5 separate regions of the Homo sapiens genome follow, and all the other regions are linked to region 1. Evidence: promoter capture Hi-C in 16 types of primary human blood cells and fetal thymus (Javierre and others, 2016). All regions are on one chromosome and are shown on one strand. The core of a region is centred on a gene start or on the middle of the fragment in contact, and the rest is flanking DNA. Distances in the headings are between cores, read along the strand shown. Region 1 holds the start of CDH26 (cadherin 26). Region 2 overlaps MIR646HG (MIR646 host gene). Region 3 has its middle 23 kb from the start of MIR646HG. Region 4 holds the start of MIR646HG (MIR646 host gene). Region 5 overlaps MIR646HG (MIR646 host gene).

Evidence for each region. Contacts are between HindIII fragments. The CHiCAGO score rates a contact against its expected background, and 5 or more counts as called.
Region 2: a fragment that was not itself captured here is called in contact with the fragment with the promoter of CDH26 in region 1 in 1 of 17 cell types (neutrophils); the score reaches 6.1 in neutrophils.
Region 3: a fragment that was not itself captured here is called in contact with the fragment with the promoter of CDH26 in region 1 in 1 of 17 cell types (neutrophils); the score reaches 6.1 in neutrophils.
Region 4: a contact is called between a fragment that was not itself captured here and the fragment with the promoter of CDH26 in region 1, in 1 of 17 cell types (neutrophils). The highest score is 5.0, in neutrophils.
Region 5: a contact is called between a fragment that was not itself captured here and the fragment with the promoter of CDH26 in region 1, in 1 of 17 cell types (neutrophils). The highest score is 7.2, in neutrophils.

What each region holds. Positions count from the first base shown.
Region 1 is chr20:59,955,116-59,960,586 of GRCh38, reverse strand. CDH26 (cadherin 26) reads right to left here and starts at 2,164. Exons shown (of 18, transcript NM_177980.4): 1 at 1,792-2,164. The coding sequence starts at 1,860. The HindIII fragment of the contact is 452 bases long and covers 2,074-2,525 here.
Region 2 is chr20:60,167,521-60,173,043 of GRCh38, reverse strand. The region is part of intron 2 of MIR646HG (MIR646 host gene); the gene reads right to left. Among named protein-coding and RNA genes, the nearest start is that of MIR646HG, 32 kb to the right of the region's middle. The HindIII fragment of the contact is 4,033 bases long and covers 431-4,463 here.
Region 3 is chr20:60,113,126-60,118,534 of GRCh38, reverse strand. No RefSeq gene overlaps it. Among named protein-coding and RNA genes, the nearest start is that of MIR646HG, 23 kb to the left of the region's middle. The HindIII fragment of the contact is 2,269 bases long and covers 1,625-3,893 here.
Region 4 is chr20:60,133,140-60,138,773 of GRCh38, reverse strand. MIR646HG (MIR646 host gene) reads right to left here and starts at 282. Exons shown (of 5, transcript NR_046099.1): 1 at 130-282. The HindIII fragment of the contact is 1,061 bases long and covers 720-1,780 here.
Region 5 is chr20:60,191,172-60,196,294 of GRCh38, reverse strand. The region is part of intron 3 of MIR646HG (MIR646 host gene); the gene reads right to left. Among named protein-coding and RNA genes, the nearest start is that of MIR646HG, 55 kb to the right of the region's middle. The HindIII fragment of the contact is 3,955 bases long and covers 1-3,767 here.

The sequences.
Region 1 (5,471 bases), core at 915-3,414:
GGGAAGATTTCTTCGAAAAAGTATTTTTTGTGTAAGGTTTTAACGGCCTTTGTGCAAAGTTGTTATTTTTGCAGAGCTTTTGTGATAGTTTTAGTTATCAAGCCTACAAATGTGAGAACCCCCTTTTCATAACCTTCTTTGTGTCTATATATCAGGCTTTGTGCCTGTGTGTGTGTGTGTGTGTGTGTGTGTTTTAACATAAGGAACTCCATTCTGATTCTGACAACTTTCGCAGTACCAAGGGCTTTTACGCATTTCCTCATTCACTGGTACAACCACTGGCTCAGATAAATTCAGTTACTAGCTCCATTTTCAGGTGAAGAAAAATAGGCTTAACAAGGTTATGTTAAAACCAGTGCACTGACACCCAGTGCACTCCCAGGTCAGCTCAACCTGAACCTTTGGGGGCAAAACCCAGGCACTGAGATCCCTTGAAGCTCCCTAGGTAAGTTCAACTTGATCCAAGGTAAGGAACAAAGTTAAGCTGGCCTAGGTCCCCAGCGGGCTGTGAAGGAGCCTAGGTCAGGACGCCAAGCAGCCCAGTCCAGAGCTCACAGTTACCAGCCACTGGGCTGCTTCCCACCCTCAGCTGGTATTCAAAGGAAGAAATGATTCCCTCTCCCTACCTACAGAAAGCCAACGAAGCAGATCATAACCAACAAGCGCATGCAACATTACCTCTGTCCACTCTAAGTACAAACAGAGCAAGCCCATGTGTTTCGAATCCTGACTCCACTAGTTTGTATTCCCATTTAAACAGTGGCAGTTGGGGGCAATGGATTTAGCCATTCCATCCCCATGGGTTTGCTCAAATTGCCTTGGATCCAGACAACTGAGATTTCCTCAATCTTATGTAAAGTGTGAACAGAAGTATCATTATAAAACTTGGCAGGGCGCAGTGTCTCAAGCCTGTCATCCTAACACTTTGGGAGGCTGAGGCAGGCAGATCACTTGAGGTCAGGAGTTTGAGACCAGCCTGGCCAACATGGTGAAACCCTGTCTCTAATAAAAATACAAAAACTAGCCGGGCATGGTGGCGTGCACCTGTAGTCCCAGTACTCGGGAGGCTGAGCCAGGAGGTTGCTTGAACCCAGTAGGAGGAGGTTGCGGTGCACTGAGATGTCACCACGCACTGTAGCCTGGATGACGAGACCCTGTCTCAAAAAAAAAAAAAAATTGTGTGTGTTGGCTGGGTGAGGTGGCTCATGCCTGTAAACCCAACACTTCGGAAGGGCAAGGCGAATAAATCACTTGAGCTTAGGAGTTCGAGACCAGCCTGGGCAACATGGTGAAAATCCATCTCTATAAAAAATACAGAAATTAGCCAGCGTGGTGGTAAGTTACTGTAGTCCCAGCTACTCTTGAGGCTGAGGTGGAAGGATCACCTGAGCCTGGGAGGTTAAAGCTGCAGTGAGCCTTGATCATGCCACTGCACTCCAGCCTGGATGATGAAGCCAGACCCTGTCTCAACAAAAGGAGAAAGAAACAAAGAAAGAAAACACGTGTGTGTTGATGTAATCTCACTAAAAATAGTGTGAACTATATAAATTAGTTTTAAACAGGTCCCTTAGCCTGCTCCCACTGTTGCCCCAAACAGACTGGGACCCTTAACTTCCCTTTATATAAATCCAGAGCCCCTGCTACCTAAGCCATTCTCAAGACAGCCAGCCCTGGGTCCCAGCAGGTCACACTCAGTCCCTCTCCCCTCCCTTAGCCTAGAAGGGGCAGGGCCAGCTTGTGCTTTGCTTTCAGTTCCCTGCACCTGAGCACTAGGCTGCAGGCTCAGCTTACCTGCAGCAGCCACAGCAGCAGCACTAGAAGCAGCAGCAGCGAGGGGTGCCTCCCGGATCTCATGGCCATATGGGAATACCCAAGACAGACCCAGAACGTGCAGCTGATGACCAGTCCTCCAAGCTGGTGGTCTCACCGGAGCCACACACCTCCTTCTCAGCCAGCAGCTTCTTCTCTAAAGGTTTTCAGGTCACTTTGGCCCAGATGCTTTCATCCCATCTTGCTCCTCCCTTTTCAGCTTTTCTTGCATTTATCAGAGTGGGGTGGGCTGACTTGTAAGCTTGAACATACGTTTGCCACAAGTAGAGTTCCTAGGAAGGGTGGGGTAGAAACTAAAGCCACCATGGTCCTGCACGTACACAAAAGACTGGCTGGGGTCTGACCTCAGGAACAACAGCTCAGCCAGCGGAAGTAAAACCAGCACCTATCGGAAAGCAGAATTATTTGTTTCTTTGTTTCCTTGTTTGTTCTGGTTTCCAAATAGAAGGTCCAATCATCTCTTTCTATAGCAGGATATGTTAGTGACTATTTTCTATAATCTTATCCTCTTGAACCAAACAAAAAAAACTAGAAAATGACAAGAATGATAACTTTATTAAGGGGGAAGGGATGGGGAAGAATGAAAGAAAAGAAAAATCAACTTTTACTTTCCAAAGCACTAAAAATCGTTATTCCAACAATATCCCAGGGCTCTGGGGTTTTCAAATTATTTCTACTAAAACCTTTTTTAAGCTTAGATTAATCTGCCTTTTTGAGTTTGGAATTAAAGTGGGAGGGAGGAGAGATGGGAAAGAGCCTCCCTATGGACAGGGATCTCTGTGGCAACCCGGGAGTCTTTGCATGAGAATTCTGAAAGAGACAATTTGAGATTATATTATACCAATACTTAAGGTTGCAGTAAGCAAGTTTTAAAACACAATCTGTGATACATTAACCCTGATTACCTTAACATGACCTTTTTATCACATTACCTTGTTTAAAGTAGTAAACAGATAAAATAAAAGGTAAACTTTCTTTGCTTGTTCTAGATATTGGCTTAGGCAAGGATTTCATGACCAAGAACCAAAAAGCAAATGCAATAAAATCAAAGATAAATAGCTGGGACCTAATTAAACTAAAGAGCTTTTGCACTGCAAAAGGAACAGTCAGCAGAGTAAACAGACAACCCACAGAGTGGGAGAAAATCTTCACAATCTATACATCTGACAAAGGATTAATATCCAGAATCCACAATGAACTCCAACAAATCAGTAAGAAAAAAACAATCCCATCAAAAAGTGGGATAAGGACATGAATAGACAATTCTCAAAAGAAGATATACAAATGGTCAACAAGCATATGAAAAAATGCTCAACATCACCAATGATCAGCAAAACGCAAATCAAAACCGCAGTGCGATACCACCTTACTCCTGCAAGAATGACCATAATCAAAAAATCAAAAAACAGTAGACGTTGGTGTGGATGTGACAATCAGGGAACACTTCTACACTGCTGGGGGGAATATAACATAGTACAGCTGCTATGGAAAACAGTGTGGAGATTCCTTAAAGAACAAAAGTAGAACTACCATTTGATCCAGCAATCCCACTACTGGGTATCTTCCCAGAGGAAAAGAAGTCATTATTCGAAAAAGATACTTGCACATGCACGTTTATAGCAGCAAAATTCACAATTGCAAAATCGTGGAACCAACCCAAATGCCCATCAATCAACTAGTGGATAAAGAAAATGTGTATATGCGTATCTATATGTATATATACACATATATGCGTGTATATATGTGTATGTACATATATACACATATATGTGTGTATATATGTGTATGTACATATATACACGCATATATGTATATATACACATATATGTGTATATATGTGTATGTACATATATACACATATATACATACATATATACACACATATATGTATATATATACATACACATATATACACACATATATGTATATATATACATACACATATATATACACATATATATGTATATATATGTGTATATACAGATATATATGATGGAATACTACTCAGCCATAAAAAGGAATGAATTAACAGCATTTGCAGTGACCTGGATGAGATTGGAGACTATTATTCTAAATGAAGTAACTCAGGAATGGAAAATCAAACATTGTATATTCTCACTGATTTGTGGGAGCTAAGCTATGAGGACACAAAGGCATAAGAATCATACAATGGACTTTGGGGAATTGGGGGGAAGAGTGGGAAGAGGGTGAGGGATAAAAGACAACAAATATGGTGCAGTGTATACTGCTTGGGTGATGGGTGCACCAGGATCTCACAAATCTCCACTGAAAAACTTACTCATGTAACCAATATGCCACCTGTACCCCAATAACTTATGGAAAAATAAAATTAAAAAATAAAAATAAAAAAGAACTCATCAAAAATAAAATATAAAATAAAAATCTCCCAATTAAAAAAAAAAAACTTTCTTTGCTTAACTGAACATTCATAGCTCTGAGATGCTGCTGAATATTTTAATTTGAATAGTTTATTTTTATTGAAATTAATAGCTTATTATTGAAAAGAATAATAAATACAACTTTAAAGTCTATAGATATTTCCTGTGCATAAAGAGAAACTGAATACCTTGTGCCTATTTTCAAAGTGGATATTTCTATAATGATAGCCTATTTTTAAAAAACTGATTAAGTTAGAATCACTAATTTAGAATATATAAGTCAGGTGAGCTAAACCATGTTAAATATATGTGAAAAAACCACGTCAGTTGAGCACTCCCTGCTGCTAGAATAGCGCTGGGGACTAAAATATTGTTGCTAGAAAGGCATTAGCCTCACAATGTTCTAGTCTGGGCGGAGCTGGGGGACAACAGTGAAGGATTCCACTTTCACATTCGTTTTAAGTTTAAAAGAAATTGGTATTTTAAAATTAGCCGGGCATGGTGGCACACACCTGTAATCCCAACTACTCCGGAGGCTGAGGCAGGGGAATCCCTTGAACCCGGGAGGCGGAGGTTGCAGTGAGCTGAGATCACATCATTGCACTCCAGCCTTAGGCAACAAGAGTGAAACTCCATCTCAAAACAAAACAAAACAAAAAACACCATAGGAACTGGTATTTTAATATATTAGAAACAAACAAGTTTTCAACATTCTCAAGCGTTTAAAATAACTAAGCAGAATGCCAGTTCCCCACACGGCAACCCTACTTGGGTAGGCCACGGGGCCTGGAACTCAGCTGGTGATTCTGGGCATCACCTGCTGCACATCTTGGGTGAGCCTGAGCTTGAAGATGTCCCCACTCCCTTTCTATTCTGAGCATGTGATCATAGTGACAATAGTCTAGCGCTCCTTTCTGTGTCCTTGGAAGTACAGTAATACTTTATAGCCACATGGTGGCAGCTCCCAGCTCCCTGTAAGCTGACAAGTGAAGAAATGAGATTGCTCATGAGATAAAAGTTACTTGATTGCAAGGGAGGTATGAGCTACAATTACCTACCCAGGGTCAACCTTCTCATGTTTTTGAGGAGTGCCCCCAGCCACCTCCAGTTCTCACTGTTCTTTTTTTAGTAATGATGATTGCATCATGAGGCATCCCCACCCGGCTTGGATTTCTGCGTGGACAGTGGTCTGGCTGGCCAGGCCTCATGCCCAGCTGAAAGGAGGGGAACTTAGGTGGACAG
Region 2 (5,523 bases), core at 1,198-3,697, 210 kb before region 1:
TCAACATGGGGCAAAATAGCCCACAGGCAAGGCAGGTGTCCCCTGGGATGCAAAGAAGCCATGAGAATGAGCTCCCACCTTCTGAGTCACCGCTCACCCTGCTGCCCACTGGAGGAGAGGAGAAGTTTCAGTGCAGGTTTTTCCTTTCCGAGTATGGGACGTGATGGGAGCTGGCCCTGACCTTGTCTATGTGCCTCAGAGGACCAGGAGGTCCCAGCCAACATCAGGAATATGATAGTAAAGGTTGAGTAATAATGACAAAATAATACTCTGAGAATTATTCAGTAGTTTCCAACCACAATAGCTCTCCCTTCAGAAACGCATAAGATTGGCATTTATTTTGCTCTAGAGAGAACATTCCTTATTAGAGCAAAGTGAAAAGGAAAGCAACAATACCCAAAAAGAGGCAGAAAATGAAAAGCCGCAAGCTTCCACCGGCCTAGAGGATGCAATTTCTCTTTGCTTATTTAAGAACAACTGGGATGCATCGAACACCCCATAAAAGGCCGGCTATAGACTCACATGTTTTATCTCCTTATTACAACATCACTGTGTGTTGCTGAAAATGGCCAATTCTGTAGCAAAGAATCATTCCCAAGGGCAGCATCTGCCTCATTGCTGTTGACAATGCTTTGGAAACAGCACTGGGTTGCTTTCCAGATTCCTCAGACCTCTGCCCAAGAGGTGACCTGAGCTGATTCTCACAGAATCCATAGAAAGAATGTGTTGGCATAAGCTAGTCCAAATTCAGGTTGCTGGACTCAAAATCCGTGTCCCTGAAGAGGAGTAAAGTAGGTGTCATCTTCTCCTGCCCACTCCCCTGGTAATCCACTGTTTAAAACTAACTAGGCATCAACCTCAGAAACATTTACTGGACCCGAGCTCCATGTCAGGCCATGAAGTACAGTTACAGGCAGGTTCCATCGCATCTTCACAGCACTAACAGGTATGCATTTTTTATTATCCTCACTTCACACATGAGAAATGGAGACACACAGAGGTTACATAACTAATGTGGCTAAAACGGAAGAGTAGGTCAGATAAAAAGCCATGTCTCCTGACTCCAAACAGCATGGTGGTAACGCACACAGGGCCACTCCCCAACACATGGGCCATATGTTAATTACCTATAAATCCATGTGAAATATTCATTCATTGATTCATTCATTCACTTAAACTTGATTCGATGCTTCCAGCTGCCCTGGATACAAAAATAAATAAAATCTGGTCCCTGACTTAATTCAAGAAATTCACCATCTGGCTGAGAATAATTTTGGAATGCAAAGGTCCAAACCCCCATTTATTTGTTTTCTGATTTTGAAAAACTTTTCTTACTGGGTTTACCCATATTAGGTTTTTGCATTTTGTTTGTTTTCTCTGAGCTTGGAGGCAGAAAGACCTGCAATCAAAGACTGTATTTTTTTCATTGTTTTATTTCCTGTCTATTATATTTTGGATTCAGAATCCACTTTTCTGCAAAGCCTTTCATTTGCATCTGTACACTATAAATATGCAAATCCCAAACAAATAGGAAAGTAAAAACTCAGCCAAACCAGCCACTTGACATCAGGGTAGTTTACTGACTTCTAACTCTACTGTTAGCCAGTTTGTGCAGAGCAGACATTACAAAGTGGCAGTTTAGCCTAAAATGAGTTTTATTTTGCCTGTTCAGTGTTTTACTTCCAAGTGAATCAGTGTTTTAAAAATATAAAATGTTACATAAAAATCCAGATTTCTGGTATTTGTTGAAAAATTGGAAATTCTCATAGCAAAACACTGGGCCCACATGCCTACATAGCAACAAGGGCTGGAGCGGAACAGTGGCTATCTCTGTTAGTGACATGCTCATTCCAGCTCCCCATAGTCCCCACCACTCCCTACTGAATCCCCATCCTTGAGACTGTGTGTACCAGTTGTCATCCGGCACCTCTCTTAGACAGTTGCTTTCCTATGGTCTGTGGCTATTTCTGTATCTGTACATTTATCCAAATATGTACAACAAAACTCAAACTAAAAGGGCCTGATGATTATTTTTCTATGCAGCTTGTCTTGCTCATTTGCCTGACTACCTGATCCCTGTAGATATGGCTTTGACCAACAGTGTCAATAAATTGCATTCCCAATCAGACCAACAAAGGATGTGCAACTCAAGTTGTTTCAATTGAGTATGTGGCTGAAAACCTCTATATCCTACATGTGTCGATTACGTATAGCTGAATAACAAACCTCCCCACAACTCAGTGACTTAAAACAAGCATTTATTTGGCTTTTAATTATGTGTGTCTGAAACCTGGGCTGGGCTCAAGTAGGTAGCTCTTCTACTGGTCTCACTAGACTCACTCATCTGTGGTCAGCTGGTGGTCATTGAACTAACGTGCCTGCCTACAGGCTGGCTGGCTGCAGGCTGAGGCCATGAAGGTACCTAGGTGTCCCATCTTTTATCACCCAGCAGGCCTGCCCAGGCTTGTTCTTGGGATGGTGGTTGTAAAGTTCTTGTATGAGTTTGCTAGAACTGCCATAACAGAATACCACCGACTATGGGGGGCCTTAAACAATATGACTTCACTTTCTCACAGTTCTGAAGGCTGGAAATTTAAGATCAAGATGCCAGCAGGACTGGTTTCCAGTGAGGCCTCTCTTCCTGGCTTGTGGACGGGTGCCTTCTTGCTCTGTCCTCATGTGACCTTTCCTCTGTGAGCCTGTGGAGAGGAAGTAGTCTCTGGTATCTCTCCCTCCTCTTATAAGAACACAGTCCTATCAGAGTAGGGCCCTACCCTTCTGGCCACATTTAACTTTAATTACTTCCTTAAAGGCTTTACATTCAAATACAGTCACATTGGGAGTTAGGGCTTCAACCTATGAATTTTAGTGGGATGCAATCAGTCCGTAACAGTTCCCAAGAGCAAATAGAAGACAAGCCCTTTGTGTAATATTTGATTTTTTTCTCATTGACCTAAACAAGTCCTCTGGCCAGGTCCTGAGTCAGCGTGAGAGTGGACCACACTGACGCAAATACCAGGACACAGAGAGGCATGAACAAATGAGGGGCTGTGACAGCAGCCATCCACCATGTCCAGGCCAACTTTCTTCACCTGCTGCATACTCTAGGTCAGCGCATTTTAGATGCATGCTGTGGGGGTTACTGTGGTTCACTATCCAACAACTGATTCTCATCAGCAGGTTATTCTAAGAGGATTATAGGCTCCCTTTCCCCTTCAATGACTGATGGGGGAGTGGGCATGGACCCAGTGCAGATAAAATGGAAATGTCTGCTGCATGTCCTTATGGAAAAGGTTTCCAGGCTCCAATAAAGAACAGGAGAAGAGAAGGTCCTGCTCCTGGATGTTGTTGAGTCAGATAATGCCTGGATCAGCTGTGGCCACCTTGCCATCTCTGGAGGATGACGCCAATCCCTCAAAGGCAATGGGAGACCAGAAAAATGCAGATAGTCTCCAGAGCCTGACATCCATGCCTAGACCGCATTCTGACTCCGAATTTCTTGTTACATAGCACCATGGATATCCTTGCTGCTTGGATTGGTCTGAGTCACTGTATTCAGTCGCTTATAGCCTAATGCAGACCAACAATGCAGACACTGATTAGACTGGCCCATCCATGTGGAGCCAGGGAGGTCACACACATTTCATGGGGAGCCCTGGATTCTATGTTTATGTTGGCCTGGGGCGGCTGCTGTCTCAGCTTCCTCCACTGAAAAAGTAGAAAATGTCTATTCTATAACCCCAAGTGTGGATTTATGATCAGATGAGATAATGCATAGGAAAGCATTTCAAGCTGTATAAATTGTCAAACCAGTGTAAAGAAATGAGAAAACAGCATCTTTCAGGATGAAAGGATTGACAGCTAATAGCTAGAATTATGTCATATCAACAATCCATCCATCCAGTCAAGTCAGTCAGAGCACTGTCAAACCTGTTTACTGTTGCAGAGACCAAAATAACCACATATTCTACAACAGACCTCCACCTATAATTAACCTTTCAATTAAATGAAGACAGCCTCAGCATTGTGTGAGTGCTAAGAGTGGTTAAAGGGTGGAGGCACTGGGCAGAAGCAGGTCCACATCAGCTAGGATGATTTCAGCTGCAAGGAACCAGCACCTAACTCATCCTGACTTAGAAAATAATTTACTGGCTCAACTACGAAGAGTATAGCAGTAGGACATTTACCTGAGGATTTCAGGTGAGGAGTCATTCAGTGGTTCAGTGACATAGCCTAAAATCCAGCTTCCTTCTTCCTCTGCCCTCTGTCTTTCATGGTATTGGCCTTATATTCCCAAATGTCCAGGGAGTAATTGCTAGACATATCCTCAAGTAAGATCACGCATTTAGTCACTGCACTTGACTGTGTAAAAAGCATAAATTTCTTCAATGAAAAGAATATAAATATATCCAATTTTTATAACCTGTTTCAAGATTCCTTCATTTTTCAATGTATTGGAAGCTTCAGGAATTGACAATAGCCTGGGCTCCCTCGATCATGAAGAAGTCCTGTTTGTCCTGATATAACTGATGATTGGTCCTGAAACTATTTGCCTGAAAACTTTCTTCCTGGAATGCAGCTTGTCTTCATCCTGCAAACACACACTTCGATACCTGCATTTGTTGAGATGGGCTGAAATGACCCAACAACAGATCCCCACTTTCACTACAGACATAAAGAAATGTTTGTACTTGAGATGGTAGCAACAGGCCCCAACTCTACATGTCTCCCACTGAGATTTGAGAAAGTAAAGAAAAGAAGACAAACCTTGCTTACATTAATTTACTGTCACCCACTGTGGCTGAAATGCTCATTAGAATCTGGCATTTATACATAATTTTAAATTGGCCCAGGTCTTCTAATCCTTCTAATGAGTTATTTCCCTCCACTGGCCATAGATGTTAAGGCAACCATCAGTCTTTACACCCATGTAAATATTTTTGTACTTATTTTGTGGTGAAAGTTGACAGGGAGCTTGGTGTCACAATGAAACTGTGTGTAGAAACCAGAGAAGACTAAGTGCTAACAAGCATAAGCCACATCCCCAGGGTTTTGAACAACCATGGTCTGGTCTTTCTCAACTCAATTGAATATGTATTCCTTTACATAAGCAAGCCAAATACCAAATGGAAATTATATTAGACATGCAGAAACATCAGCAAACCTCAATCTCTAGTCAAGCAGAAAGAAATAGCAATCAATTAAACTCACCCGGAAATCAATGCCTGAATCTATTTTGTCTGACATCATATATCCTGGCAGTACACAATTTAAGACAAAACAAACTCACCCATTTCAGAGATTAACATCTACGCCCCTTAGCTGTAAGGACTTTTGGAACAAAAATCCTAAAATTGAATTTTACTCTATTCATTCCATCAGTAGGTCTAGGAATGAAGCTCCATTTATTGAAAAACATAAAATTCCTGACATTTCACTATAAGTCCTCTTCTCCATTTTCTTTGAATTAATCTGATGTAGAACCTGTTATAAGCAGATCATCCCTGTTAGACACCAGAGGTC
Region 3 (5,409 bases), core at 1,510-4,009, 160 kb before region 1:
GTGCAGAGGTTTCATGCATTTTAGTCTAAGTGCTCTGTCCTCCCTTAAGAACCAGGCTTGTGACCCAAACAAAGTTAGAAGGAGTCAGATCAGGGAAGAAAGAAAAACTAAAGGGCATCAGCTTATTTCCATTGGAAATGCCCAACAAACTCGCCCATCTGTTCTGTTCTTTGAAGGGGGCTGCCCTGGTTTCTCTCTGGCTCGAGAGCCTGATCCTACAGCATTCCTGTCCATTCCAGCCACCCAGCAGACTTTAGGCAAATTCATTTTTGCTTAAAATAGACAGAGCTCATTTCTATTGCTTGCTACCAAAGAACTCTAAATGATTCCGGGCTTAGAAAGGTCAGTAGGGACCTGCGGTAGGGGAACCAAGACCTCCATTCACCAACTGCCATCATTACCCACCTCTTTGTTTAAGCAGACCTGTTGTCTGGACCCTCTGCCACAGCTGCCATCAAAGGGAGCTGTGGGTGTCATTCTCTATGACCTCCCAGTGCCCATTGAAAGTATGAATTACTATCCCCATGTTAAAGACAAGGAAACTAAGAATCAGCAGGATTGAGGTCAGAGGACTAGTAAGTGGCACATAGATTTTGACCAAAGTCTGATCAATAGCAAAGCCCATTTACTTTCCACTCTGCCAAGACTCTTCAGCACTCAAAAGTAAACCAATTATTTTTTTCTTTTAAAACAGTTCACATCAATGTTTTAATTAACCATGCCTCACCTTTTGAATTAAAAACAGAGTCCTTTTTTGTTTTCTCCACAGAAATCGTATTTGGAATCTCAAACTATAAGAGATAGAAGACGAAAGGTGAGAAAAGGACAGAGCCCAGCTGCTCCCCCGACCTCTGCAAAGGGTCCACAAAACCCAGTGGTCTGACCTGCAGCACAAAAACCAGCACTCTGAGGAGCAATTTGGCTTTTCATTAATTCAAATAGGACCGCATACCCTGACCTCAATCTATTTCTAATCATGGTGTCTTAGGAAGCTTAGAGATCCAGCTAACTTCGTGGGGCCACTCACAGTATGTCTCTCCCGTGTCAGCTCAAATATTCAATTTCAAGCTCCTATCTGACCCGTGCTGCTTAACTGAGAGCCGTTCATCTTCTTCATGTTTAGGAAACTGCAAGCTCAGTATAAATGTGCCATCCTCTGGTGTCTCTTAAATTCTGTCTGGAAGAACGCCACGGGGAAAGGGTTTAGCATATCTCCTTCAGCATTTGGGAGCTCAGAATTCACAGGGAGATTAACACATATGCTGTAAGTCACGATGGGGAGAGCTATAAATAGAAGAGCCTCTTTCCACACAGTTGAGGATCTTCTGGTATAACCACAATACTTTATAACCCTGATCATCACACAAGGGGAAGCATGAAAATGACCGTGCTCTGAGAGAAGATATTTTATGCATGAACTGGTTTCATTTCTGGAATCTGTAAGCTTTTAAGAGGCAGGAGTCACGGCACATTCCACACTTCATCCACGTTACACCTAAAGGTTCATTGGGAGCACCTGTGAGCATACTTTGGGGTCATAAATCCCAAGGGTTTCTGGAAGGCTACTTCCAAACGCACTGGGCAATGTTTTTAAAGGATGTGCTTAAAAAAAAAAAATGAAGCTTCCAAGTTGCATTTCTTTCAATAGAAAACTGAAGCAGGTCATTGGGGCTCATTTCTTTCTTCCCCCAAATCTGCCCACATATTCAGTTGTTGTGTCTCCTGTCTCCTAAAAACACCAGGTGCTTTTGCTTTTCACTATTTTACCCCCGTCAGGCAGGGGTTGGAGGCTGGCCGGCCACGCCCCCCCCATTAGTCAGGGGTTGGAGACTGCCCGGCCACGCCCCCCACATCAGGCAGGGGTTGGAGGCTGGCTGGCCACGCACCCCACATCAGGCAGGGGTTGGAGGCTGGCCGGCCACGCACCCCACATCAGGCAGGGGTTGGAGGCTGGCAGGCCACCCCTCGCCAACTTTATCCAGTGATTTTATTTACAGCAGGTCTATCACTTTCAAGAACTCAACAAAACCATGACTCAAAAAGGAAAGAAGGAAATCAGGCAACCGCTTCTGAACGCCAAGGCCTTGCTTAGTAAGCTATCACTTAGATCAGGATTTCTCAGCCTCCGTCATGCCGAGATTCGGGGTTGGATCTTTCTCTGTGGCGGAGCTGCCCTGTGCATGTTACGTGTCAGCAGCATCCCACCTGCACCCGCTAGATGAATGCGCACACAGTAGTCTCAGCACTGCCCCCAGGTGTGACAACCAAAAATGTCTCCAGACACTGACCCATGGTGGCCCTCAGTGGAGAACCTCTGAGCCAGATGTTTATTTCACACCTATAGGACTGTAATGGAAGTCATCTAAGCTGAGTGCCAAGGCCTAATTTCCTAAGGACCCAAAACTATCCCACGAGGAAGCCTGATGGTCTCTGAGGTTTCTTCAGCTCTCACTTCTGTGGCTCACACCCAGAGCCCACAACAGAGACATGTCCAACCATTTCCCAGGCCTCCTTTTCAGAAAGTGCTGGATGCTTTTGAGTGCTAGAAGGGGAACCTGACAGAGAAAACAAAACCCGCAGGAGGTGGCTGCTGTCACGACCGCCCCCCGAAACCCGCTCCTCCAATTCCCTGCTTTCCTGTTGCTAAACGCAGAGTCAGCTGTCCAGCTAGAAATAAAAGGTTTATGTTGGGTTGCCACATAGATTCTTATGGCAATAACATTTGGAGCCTTTTACTGGGACATAAACTGTAAGCTAAAATGTCACCCGGTTTTATTAGACAATCTAAACGTAATTGCAAATAAGTTGATGTACTCATAAAAGATGATGTAAGACTGTCATCCCAGCAGCGGCATGGGGACTGGCCAGGAGCACAGGGCGATGGCAAAGTGCTGATCTGCCCTCTGCAACCAAAACCGTCCCCAGATTCCTGAAGTACAAAGAGGGAAGAGTTATGTTGGCAGGCAATGGCAGGAAGCAACATTATTACTTAATAATAATAACACAGGGAACAAGAGGTTAAAAGAGGTCAGTGCAAACCATGTCCCAAGACCATTTTCTCTGGAATAAAATTTTCATAACGAGCTCTAAGTCTTTTTTATGGGCAGGCAGAACGTCATTGGGAAATTAATGATGGATCTGAATGATAAATCTGCTTTCATATAGAAGCGTTGGTTTTTTGAAAATATGCTTTTATGCCTCAAAAGTTGTAAATGAGAACAAGACAAGGATATATCCAGAGGGATCATTATTCCAAGCTGGGCCAGCTGTCCCACCACCTGATTTCATCAAATTTATTCTAAATAAAAATATAGATCAACAAAAATCTACTTTTTTGTGCAAGAATGGGTAATTTACTTTTTTAAAAGATAAAATATGCTCAATATTGTGAAGACATCATGGTTTACATAGGAATCTTGTGTGTTTAACATACAGCTTCAGAAGATTCACCCAGGATAACAAACGTGAGAACAAATTTTTGTGAATTTCAAAATGCTCATCAGTTTACCATCTCAGGCCATTTTTCTTAATTATTAATTGGTCAGTTTGCAAAAGTCATGATATGACTTTCATGGGCTGCCAACAAAGCACACAAACCAGGTGGCTTAAATCAACTGGAATTTATTCTCTCTCACTTCCGAAGGCCAGAAATCTGAAATCGAGGTGTCTATGAGGCATCTTCTGTCTGGAGACTCTAGGGAGGGTCCTTCCTTGCCTCTTCCAGCTTCTGGTGGTTGCTGGAAATCCCTGGTATTACTTGGCCTTGTAAAATAACAACACAGAGAGAGACTTTCCAAAGAGTTGATTCGGGAATAGCAGAGGATTGCAATCCAGGATATGCATTCTCTGGTGAGCCATAAGCACATCCAAAGAGGTTGGGACTAGGAGAAGCTTTTAAAGACAAAAGGGAGAAGTCCACCTTAAGTTGTTTTGAAATGAAGACCATTGATCACAGGGGCTTATTCCGGGAGTTGGTGTTAGCTCATTGGTGGAAGCAGCCAGTGTTGGACAAGTTATGTGCATCCATAAGTGGCTTACCTGGAATCCTGTGTTTTTGAGGAGTTCCTTGCATAGTTCCTGTCATAGGCATACAAGCAGGGATGTCTTGTGATAAGTCAGGCATGTGGTGGGGGTGCTGCACCCCATTTTACTATGGTTGATGTAGCGACTCCATTTTTATATCAATGACTGGCAGCTATTCCTCTCCAGTCCTTCTTCTCATGGCCTTCTTCACATGGCCTTCTTCTCAGTCCATCTCTGCATCCAAATTTTCCTCTTCTTATAAGGACATTGGCCAATTAAGATCCACCCTAATCTAGTACAACCTCATCTTAACCAGTTATATCTGCAAAGACTCTATTTCCAAATAAGGTCACATTCTGAGGTTCTGAGTGGACATGGATTATAGGGGGGACACTGTTCGACCCAGTAGAGTGGTGAGGAGCCTATCAGTGCACATATGGTCTCAGCTTGCATTAATTTCTCTCAGCATCCTTCCCCATCTGCCATCCGGTCAGGCACACTTCCCTGTGCTGATGCTTCCTTGCCATGCACAGCTCCACCAGAGAATCAACCGGTTTCATGCAACTTCCTGCTGACTTCATCTCCAGCCTCATTTGTCATGAAACATGGGTTCCAGGAAAGCCCAGTACTGCTATGCACAGAGGCCGATACTGGGCAGGTGGGGGCAGAGGCATCTCTCCCAACCCGGAGGAGGTGCTCCCTGTTCTGCATTCAGAACACTCCTTAGGCACGGAAGTCATTGTCACTTGGTGCCATGTCCATAGGCTACTGAAAAGCATCACCCAAACACATCTGCACTTTAGGACCCACTATCAGAGTGACATAACTCACACTTCGAAGTCAGGCCGACCTGTGTCTAGTTGAGCAGTCTGGGTCTCAACTGGGTCAAGTGGGGATTAGACCATGTGAAAAATTTGCCAGCCAACCCTGGAGAGCCCCCACCTTCACTGTGTCTGCTTCTGCCTTTAATACTTTCTTCTCTGCACTGCGGTCTGGCCTGGGCTACCTGGCCCCCAGCACAGCCTCCTTGTTCCAGTGAGTAGCCATGCTTCTCCTGCTCCTTCTTGCCTGCTGAGCACCAGGTCACGTAGTTGACTGTGCCCTTGGCTCACTCTCTCTCCTTGCACTGGGTCTGAGGGCTTCTCTTCCTCTGCCCCATGCCTGTTCCTGGAGTTCCTTGGCGGTCTGTCCTCACTGTGCAGATGCTCCAGAGAGACTGAGCCTCCCCCACAGCTATCACCCGCTACACACAGGCACAGACTACCAGGGTATGAGCTCAGCTTGCACTCACTTCTCTCAGGAGCCCTCCCCATCTGCCACCCGGTTAGGCACACTTCCCTGTGCTGCTTCCTCACCACGCACGGCCCCACCAGAGAATCAACCTGC
Region 4 (5,634 bases), core at 1-2,500, 180 kb before region 1:
TGAATAATCATGTAAGACCCCCATAAAGGGGGTTTCCCCAGTGTCGGCCAGCACTGCCTCGCCTTTGAGCGGCCGCTCCGATCCGCTGGCAGAGTGCGCTTTCGCTGTGCGATCAACTCCCTTGCTTACCTTTACTTTGGACGTGCTCTCAAGTTCTTTTGTGTGGCGAAGTCAAGACCCTGAACCGGTCCACCAGCAACAGTTCTTTCGGAGTCCCTCAACCACAGGCCCTGAAAGCCGCTGAGTTAAGTCTTTAAACTGCGGGAGAGCCTGGGAGCATCTGAAACGCAAAAGGACTCCCAGTGGATAGGGAGGCAGCACCCTGACCGGAACCGGAAGAGGTTTGCCGGTGAGCCTGAGTCTCCACACACAGTGATCCGGGCACCCGGGCTGCCGTGTGGCAGGTGAAACCGCGTGTGGTGTGGATGTTTCTCCAGCTGTGTTCTGTCGAGCCCCTAAAAGTCTGGCCTGCATTGGAAGGGCCTCCCCAGTGTCCTCGTTTCTGTTCAAACAGAAAAGTTCTTATTTTCTGTATTTGTGGTTTTTGCTTCCTCATATAATTTCGGTTGCACAAAGCTAAAAAATATTTGAAAACCTCTACTTAATCGTATAACTAAATGCAACATTATCTTTTGCTTATTTAATAACTATTTTAATATTTATTTTCTATTTATATTAATAGTGATAATAAAAATATAGCTTGGAGTGAGAGAAAAGCTTTCCTCTCTGTTAACTATCACTGTATCATTTAACTACCACTAGCTATTCCTCACAACGGTTTCTAAAGTGTAAGCACCTGCCACCTCATTAGCCTCTAAGCTCCACAGTGCCAGGGACTCTTTGCCTTAGTCTCTGCTATGTGCTCAGAATACCCAGCACATACTAGGTTTGAACAAAATGCATTTTGGAGAGTGGATGCTGCTGCCACCTGGTGACAGCATACCCACATTTCATGCTTAGCACTTTGATTACTTAATGAAATTCATGAGGAATGGAATCAGAAAACCTAAGACATGCATCTGTGTGATAGCAATCTCACTTTCCTCACTTAGCTTTTTCTGTTTCCCTACTCTGCACAGATTGGAGACATCTGAGTTTTCTCTGCCCCCATCACCTGCACCTGCCCTGGTGGCATGCACTTGCACCTCCTCTGTCTGGTATTAGGTTGGTGCAAAAGTAATTTCTGTTTTTGCCATTACAACTGCATAAACTGCGATTACTTTTGCACCAACCTAATAATAGGGCTTGCCCCTCCAGAGGATAGAATCTTTGCTTGTCACCTTAGAACTTCTCACACAGAGCACTGCATTCATCAAACCCTGGTCTCAGCCATCCTCGGGGCACATGGAAGGTCATGCCCATAAATCAATGCCTCAGCCAACATCTGGTCTCCCCTTCTGCCATTCCCTGTGTCCCTGCCCTGGCACCAGGCATTTGCAGGTGCAGGGGGCAACATCATTTAGTTAGCTTCATCTGGGCAGGGAGGAGCATTATTAAACATGAGAGATAGCTGTTGGCTCATGGAAAAGATTAGTTTTAAGCTATTTAAGGCAAAGCAATAAAGGATGTGGTTTCCTCCTCTGACATGCTTCCTAATTTGTAGATTCATATGACATCACACTGGATTACAAAGCCACATTACTCTGATTGGTAATATTATGCTATCCTAATTCAGTTTGTATAATTATTTAATTTTTTAGGACTGCTCTCAAATATTAACATTGTGTTCGGTAGAGGCCAGAAAAAATTGGGAACATGCATCCACACACGTGGAGAAGCTTAATTGCTAGAATAATGCAGGGCAATTATTGTAATGAGAACAAAGCCTCATGTCTGGCATACACATGTGACTGTGTCCAGCCCAACTTCCACTGAAGTGACAGTCACTGGACTCGAAGCTCCTCAAGGACAGGGGCTGTGTCGCCTTCACAGACATGACTCATTGCCGGTGCTCAATCAGGGTTGAGCTGACTTGACTTGAAGCCAAATAAGGACAAAGAAAGGTCAGGCAGTCCTGAAAAAGCCAAGGGTCTGAGAGACAACACTCGCTGTTGTCCTCGCTGTTTAATTCTCTGAGGTCCATTAGGAAGTAGGTAGGAGCCATGTCATCATGGCCACTTGGGCCAATCGTCTGCACAGATGGGGAAGGCATCTGCCCCCACAGTGAACACTAGGCTTATCTGCCTCCTAAATCTCTCTCCAGGCTAACTTCCATGGTTATTCAAATCCCTCTATTAAATATTCAGACCTCCAGCCCCTGGACCTCTATGGTCCTCCTGACAAAGCTAGAGCTGTGATTTCTCTGCACCTCCATTCTTCATCTGCAAAATGGGGCCATAGAGTCTACTCCACTGGGTTGAGAAGCTACTGGAAACCAGGCTGCCAAGTGCCTGATGCAGTATCTGTCTTCAGCTGGCCTCCACACAAAGACAGTTTCCTCTTTTAAATTATATCTAGACTTTTAATCATTTTTTTACATTTTTATGGGTACACAGTAGGTGTATATATTTATGGGGAACATGAGATGTTTTGATACAGGCATGCAATGCACCATAATCACACTATGGAAAATGGAGTATCCATCTCCTCAAGCATTTGTCCTTTGTGTTACAAACAATCCAATTATATTCTTAGCTATTTTTAAATGTACAATTAAATTATCGTTGACTCTACTCACCCTATTGTACTATCAAACACTAGGTCTTATTCATCCCCATGTCCGTCCTCCTCACCCCCGCAACACTTCCCAGCCTCTAGTATCCATCCTTCTACCCTCTATCTCCATGAGTTCAATTGTTTGGATTTTTGGATCCCACAAATAAGTGAGAACATGTGATGTTTGTCTTTCTGTGCCTGGTTTATTTCACTTAAGATGATGACCTCCAATTCCATCCCTGTTGTTGCAAATGACAGGTTCTTATTCTTTTTTATGGCTGAATAGTACTCCATTGTGTAAAGTACCACATTTTGTCCTCTTATTGCTTTTCGTCACTGCTGAGAGCCAGTCCTATCTGCTGCTTTTCCAGGGTTTCCTAGGAAGATGCCCACTCTATGTGTTAGACCAGAAGTTTAAGTTAACGTGGTCTATGGACAATCACAGCCCATGCACCCATGGCAGGGCCTCAGGTACCTGCATGTCACCAACTCCTTACCCCAGAGGAGATGCCCACTCTGGCTGGGAAAGTTTAACCACTTCGACGCACACATCTGCCCAACAAATATAGACAGAATGCCTACCATGTACAAGTGTTAACCAAACACCTGAGAAAGAAGCATTAGGTTAACAGAGACTCTATTTGCACAAGCAGTTTGCAAACTGGGGAGATGCAGCCTTCAGTACAAAACAAAGGTGGGCCCGGAGAGAACCAAGAGAGTGGTTGTCTTTGATAGAGAAAGCTCTTACCCAGCCTCCCACTCTGGGCCACTTATGCAATTGTGGGATGTAAACTGCTCAGTTCTGATTGGCCGATGCTGTCACAGTCTATTGCTCAGGTCCAGGAGGAAAATAAGGTTTTCCCACAGCTACTGATTCAGGTGGCATGAACAGGAAAAAACAGCCTTGAATGTCCCTAAGTTACATGGCAAGGGTGTGTGCTTTCCTGGAACACAGAGTATGTGTGTGACCTCTAGTCAGCAAATGGCTGCTTGGCTCTATTTGGAAACTAGGCCCAGTTAGATGCTTAAGAGCTGTTTCGGAGAATGGGCTCTTTCAGGTTCACACAAGACAAAACAACTAGCAAAAGGGAGAAAATGTTCCTGCAAAGTCTACTTTCTAGATTCTCTAGGAAGGTGGTTTAGTCAGGGTTCTCCAGGGAAACGGAACCAATAGGAGATATTATATATATCTTATATATATGTGTGTGTATATATATATTATATATGTGTATATATATTATATATGTGTATATTATATGTGTATATATATATTATATATGTATATATATTATATATGTGTGTATATATATATCATATATGTGTGTGTGTGTATATATATATATATACACACACACACACACACACACACACACACACATATGGGTGTGGGGAGATTTACTATAAGAAACTGACTTGTGGCCGGGCACGGTGGCTCATGCCTGTAATCCTAGCACTTTGGGAGGCCAAAGTGGGCAGATTGCCTGAGCTCAGGAGTTTGAGACCAGCTTGAGCAACACGGTGAAACCCCATCTCTACTAAAATACGAAAAATTAGTCAGGCATGGTGGCATATGCCTGTAGGCCCAGCTATTCGGGAGGCTGAGGCAGCAGAATCACTTGAACCCAGGAAGCGGAGGTTGCAGTGAGCAGAGATCACACCACTGCACTCCACTCTGGGTGACAGAGCAAGACTCTGTCTCCAAAAAAAAAAACAAAAAGAAAAAAGAAAAAAGAAATTGACTCAGGTGGTGATGGAGGTTGAGAAGTCCCACAGTCTGCCATTAGCAAGCTGGAGACCCAGGAAAGCCCATGGTATAATTGGAGTTCAAAGCTCTGAGACACAGGGGAGCTGAGGTGTAAATCCTATTGTGATAGCAGGAGAAGATGAGATGAGATGTCCCACCTCAAGCAGGGAGTCAAGAAAAAAGGCGAATTCCTTCTTTCTCTATCTTTTGTTCTATTCAGGCCCTCAACAAATTGGGTAATGCCCATCCCTGTGGGGCAGGTCAATCTACTGTGCTGAGTCCAGCAACTCAAATGCTAATCTCTTTGGGAAGGCTTCTCACAGACCCACCCAGAAGCAATGTTTAACCTGGGCACCCAGAGGCGCAGTCAAGGTGACACCTAAGATCAACCACCACAGAGGGTGAAACCATCAACCACTCTAGGAGTTTGGTGTAAGGGTGAACCCCTAACCAAGCCAGGGGTCTTGTGTAGTAAAAGGAGGAGGCCAGACTCTGACCCCAAAGTGTCTCATTTAAAGATCTGAGATGGGCTCCAGAACATTCTATGTGCTCACAAGAACCTCTGCTATTTCTGACTCTGTTGGTCCAAGAAACAGCACAAGACTGTGAGCTCTTTATGAGCTGAAACCAGGCCCCAGCTCTGTCCCTGAAGGGACAAAGCACAGTGTGTGGAAGTAGCAGTGTTCAGCGTCTCATTTGTGAGATGAAGCGAAGCCATCGTGAAGGAGTCTGGAAGGACAGAACAACTTTGCTAAGGGGAGTGAGAGTGAGGTCAGGAGTAGGGGAGAAACAGGAAATGGGAGTTCCTTTGAGAGTTGTGAGAACTAAATTCATGCTGGGAAGAGGTGGAGAGAATTCAGAGAAGTGGCTTGCTCTGGTGTGAAGGATCCTTCCGAGGAGGTCAGGATTATAATGATCTCATTACTAAATTGGAACTTGCCCGCCAATAGACCCTACTCATCTCAGACGGAGAAGGAGCTCCACAGCAAGCAACTGTGATTGCACATTAAATATTTAACAGATCGCCTCTTGAGCAATCATTTGTGGTCATAATCTGGCTCAGTCTACCACCACATCACAAAAATGCTCACGTGAAAAGAAACGTGGGTCCAGGAGGTGGTTTCTCAGTTCAATGCACAGATCACTGGTAGCCAAACTCCACACAAAGGTGGATCTCCCCTCGCCATAGCGTCTTCTGCAGTCTTGAGTCTCCAGCCTGAACTACTCCATGAGAC
Region 5 (5,123 bases), core at 541-3,040, 240 kb before region 1:
AAACAAATTTACAAGAAAAAAACAACCCCATTAAAAAGTGGGTGAAGGACATGAACAGACACTTCTCAAAGACAATAAACATATGAAAAAGAGCTCAACATCACTGATCACTAAAAATATGTCAATATCACTGATCACTAGAGAAATGCAAATCAAACCCACTATGAGACACCATCTCACACCAGTCAGAATGGCTACTATTAAAAAGTCAAGAAACGAGAGATGCTGGTGAGGCTATGGAGACACAGGAACACTTTTACACTGTTGGTGGGAATATAAATTCGTTCAACCCTTGTGAAAAATAGTGTGGCAATTCCTCAAAGACTTAGAACCAGAAATAACATTTGACCCAGCAATCCCATTACTGGGTATAGACACAAAGGAATATTAATTATAAAGACACATGCACACATACATTCATTGCAGCACTATTCACAATAGCAAAGACATGGAGTCAACCGAAATCCCCATCAATGATAGACTAGATAAAGAAAATGTTGTATATATACACTGAGGAATACTATGCAGCCATAAAAAGGAACAAGATTATGTCCTTTGCAGAGACATGGATGGAGCTGGAAGCCATTATCCATGGAACAGAAAACCAAACACTACATATTCTCACTTATAAGTAGGAGATGACAATGAGAACACATGGGCCCAGGAAAGGGAACAACACACACTGGGGCTTGTCATCGGGGGAGGGGTCGTGCGAGGAGGAAGAGCACCAGGAAAAATAGCTAATGCATGCTAGGCTTAATGCCTCGGTGATGTGTTGATAAGTGCAAAAAACCACCATGGTGCATGTTTACCTATGTAACACACCTGCACATCCTGCACATGTATCCCAGAACTTAAACTTAAAAAAAAAAAGAAAAAGAGCATTTCCAAAAAATATATTCCTTGGAACAAAGGGTATATTGTTCAATATATTTGAAAGAGACTGAATTTCACTAAGTTATCTGAATTTCTTTTGTGTAGGATTCCCAAGAGACCTGAATACACAAATGTACACAATGCTAAGGGCTCAAATGGGTTTCTCTTAACTGACCACAGAAAAATTCATTTTATAAAAATAGAATGTTATGCAGAACTGTGTTTTTCCAGGGACCAATGTACCAAAAGTTCTTTCTATACAACATTCATTCTTGAAGTCTCATATCTCACAGCTCTAAGCCACTTGCTGAGTCCCAGCCTTGCTGGATTTCTCAGTGGGGAGGGGACTGTAGGAAAAGGTATTTGTGCAGAAGAGTCAGCAGGATTTGCAGGGGCAGGTCAGGGAGGTGCTCCGTCCATTCTCTTCGGGAACATTACTTTAGAACACCTTCACTGCAAAGTTTAGCCATTTCATGATGAGCAAAAGCATCCCAATTTTGGTAATTTCAAAGCCTTACAAAAATTAAAAGCAACTGCTCCCAATAAAATATGTGGGCCCCTGTCCCTGTTGGATGCAGATATGCACACTGGCATTCTCTCTCTTCAAGCACTCACAGGTCTCACCTCCACATAGCAGTGTCGAGGGACCAGCACCTCCAGCCAACTATTCTGCACAAATATCTTATCCTTAGGACCAAAGGAATCATTTGGAAACTTCCCATTTGAAGTCTTTTCCTTTTGAAATACCTTTGAACTTGTTTCATCTCCTTTTACCTTTCTTTTTGACAAACTGGCACTTTCTTAAACTTTTAGAGACATCCCAATTATGGAGGTAAATTCTTTGGCAATTTTTCGGGCAATTTCTGCATAAAGGGACATTGTGTGCATGTCCAGTAAAGACCCATTCATTTTCATTGACTTTTTAATGGATTTAACTTGGTTTTAAAAAAAATGATGGCAAGGAAATTAAAGGTAATGAGAGGGAAAATGGATGATTCCAGACTTTCTTCCACTTTAAAGATAGCCAAATGTAATATGCCCAAGTTTGATGAAATTATTTTATTGTTTTAACCATCATTTATGGGAAATTGAGTTTCCCTAGAGACTGCAAGGACCCATTGAAGAGACACAGGACTTTTAACAGGTAAATTGGCAGAATGTTAGGGACTGTTTCTCCTCTTCTGCAGTCACCACCCAAAGCACTTGCCTCCCCTGTTTTACCCAATATGGTGGCTGTGGACCACACACTTCTTTAGGGGATTTGCTTGGGTTGGGCTACCCCAACATCTATTTCCCTACTTTTTGCACAATGCCCATCTCCCTTTGGGGAAATTGCCCCTCTCCCACTGTGTATGGTCTTGGGTTGGTGGGAGGTCAAAGTGCCCTGCTTAGTTGAGTAGGATAGCTATAAGTAAAGGTATTCTGCCATTGCTTGGTGGGGTGGGCTGGCTGTATGTTAAGGTTCCCTGCCATTGTCTAGTAGTGTAGGCTGGCTCCATGTCAAGGTATCCTGCCATTGCTGGTGGGGTGAGCTGGCTACAAGTCAAGTTGTCCTGCTATTGCTTAGTCGAGTGGGCTGGCTGCAAGTCAGGTGTCCTGCCATTGCTTGGTGGGGTGGGCTGGCTATAAGTCAAGGTGCCCTGCCTTTGCTTAGTGGGATGGGCTGGCTATAAGTCAAGTGCCCTGCCATTGCTTAGTGCACTGGGCTGGCTGTCAGTCAAGGTGCCCTGCCATTGCTTAGTGGGGTAGGCTGGCTGTCAGTCAAGGTGCCCTGCCATTGCTTAGTGGGGGAGGCTGGCTATCAGTCAAGGTGCCCGGCCATTGCTTAGTGGGGTATGTCGGCTGTCAGTCAAGGTGCCCGGCCATTGCTTAGTGGGGTATGTCGGCTGTCAGTCAAGGTGCCCGGCCATTGCTTAGTGGGGTAGGCTGGCTGTCATTCAAGGTGCCCTGCCATTGCTTGGTGGGGTGGGCTGGTTACTGGCTATAAGTCAAGATGCCCTGCCGTTGCTTCATTGCTTAGCAATGTTGGGGTAAAGGGGCACTGGAACTCAAGCTGGGGCAATCTCATGAGCTCTCTTTCCACCAACCCCCAGATATTCTGTTAGCCAAGATGACACAAGATAGGGAAAAGAGTTAACCTGATTCCCACCAGATACACTGAGTTGAGATGCCTGGTGCCAGCTCCTGCTACCTGGACCATAACTCTGCCCTTGATCTTGCCATTTCCCAAGCAGAGTTCTCATGCTCTTACTAGATCCTCTTCTGCTTAACCAGAGTTTGTGACCTGGGTAACCCTCACTGGCCCAAACTCATTTTGACAGATCAAATGATTCCTCCTCACCTGAGAAGAAGCAGCTAGAAGTACTCCCAGACACTGCAGGGCATCTAGTCTTCCTCCTCTGCAACAAGAGCCTGGCAGTGTCCCCCTCCCCTCAAAGGATGGCCAGGCCAGCACCCAGCACAGGAGGCCCAGAGCTCCTCCATTGTGGCCCTGAATAATGGAGGGGATGGCACAGATCCACAGTGAAGTATGTGCCCTCTGGACCAAGGCTGTCCAGCTTGAATCCCAGCTCTGCTCCTCACCACTGTATGACTTGGACAAGTCACCAAGTCACCTCGCCCCCATGTGCCTCCATTTCCTCATCTACCAAATGCAGCTAATGCCATTGTTTTTATCTCAAAGGCTTGTTTTAAGGATTAATGAGTTAACATGTGTAAAGCACATAGAACAGCACTTGACCCAAATATTCATTTACTAAGTTTTAGCTATTCTACTCTTCCTCTTATTACTGTTGTTAAAAAAAATAAGTAGCATTCTCACCAATTTAGTTTAGAGATGTAGCTGGCTTTCATTAGTGAGTCATGTGTCAGGCAACATTCCATCTAAAGCTTTAGAAAGAAGATCCTGTAAGCTGAGAAAAGGAGATGGACTTTATGGCTGAAAAAAGGAATAAAAAGTAGAATGGGCATTACAGGTTACTTTCCTTATAAGGTCAAAATGGAGGGAACTTCTGTATCATGCTGTTTCAGACAAATGGGGCTTCTTCCAACTGCTGCTAGGAATCTCCTGTTTTTTGGAAAACTGGTCCGTATGAGTCAGTTTGATTACATGGCACTTAGTATGGATGAATCCATTCTGGTCTGGTTGGTCTGTTGCGCCTAAAACGGAGCTCATTCTAAACAATGACCCCCATCATTGTTATACAACATTATCATGATTTCTACTGTCCTCTTCAGCCTGCAAATGTGCCCTGGTTCAGGCTGTGGTCACAGACTTTACAGATGCTGGTTTGCCAGCACATCAAGAGCTGATCCTTCTCACAATGGCAACCCCACATATGCCAAGTTTTTACAGCTGAAGTCTAAGCTCCAAATGCCAATTTTTAACTTACAGTAACTCATCTCTGTCATTTTGTGGTCAAGAACACAGACTCTGGCATCAAACCCACCTAGATTCAAATCCCAGTGATGCCACCTGCACACTGTGGATTGTTAATCCCCTCTCTCAATCCTACCTCATAGGATTGGAGCGGGGATTGACACAAAATAATATGCACAGAGGGCTTCCTGGGGAGCCTGGCACCTAATAAGTGTTCAATAAATGGCAGCAAAATGTCCTGTAATTATCATGGTGATTGAAAAGATTGCCCGTGCATGGTAGGCATAAGAAGCCAACTTGTATTCAGAGCATCATTTGTTTGATTTTAGAATGAGAAGTAACTCATGCTGGGCACAGGATGCTCAAAGTCTCTATGATTCCTGCATTATTTCCCTGCAGGCAGACAATGGGGGTACCACAAATAATCAGCACATAGCCTGGGGAGCCTGGAATAGACACAGGAAGAGGGAGGGGTGTTCAATGTTTAATGTCACTGGGTTAGGAAGATGCATCAGCTTCACCTGATGGGCTTTGCCACCCTGGCCAGATTGCCTCCATGGCTAAAGCTCTCTCTACCCCTCAGAGAGGTTCTAAATGAAACTCCCAGTATTTGCCAGTGGGATTTATACACAGCTTCCTGAGCACAGCAAACCTTCTTTGAATGACACAACCTCATCCTGAAGTTGTTAATAAATTCACCCAGGTCCCAGCCAGCCTTCTCTCTCCCTCCCTAGCTGGCTCTGCCTCTCTCATCTGGGGAATTACGTGTTGATCTATTTCTTAAAGCCCTGTTGAAGCCAGTGTTTCTAAGTTCTGCAGGAGAGGGAGGCATCTCAATTCAGCCTCCCAATACCGTTCGTAACTGAAC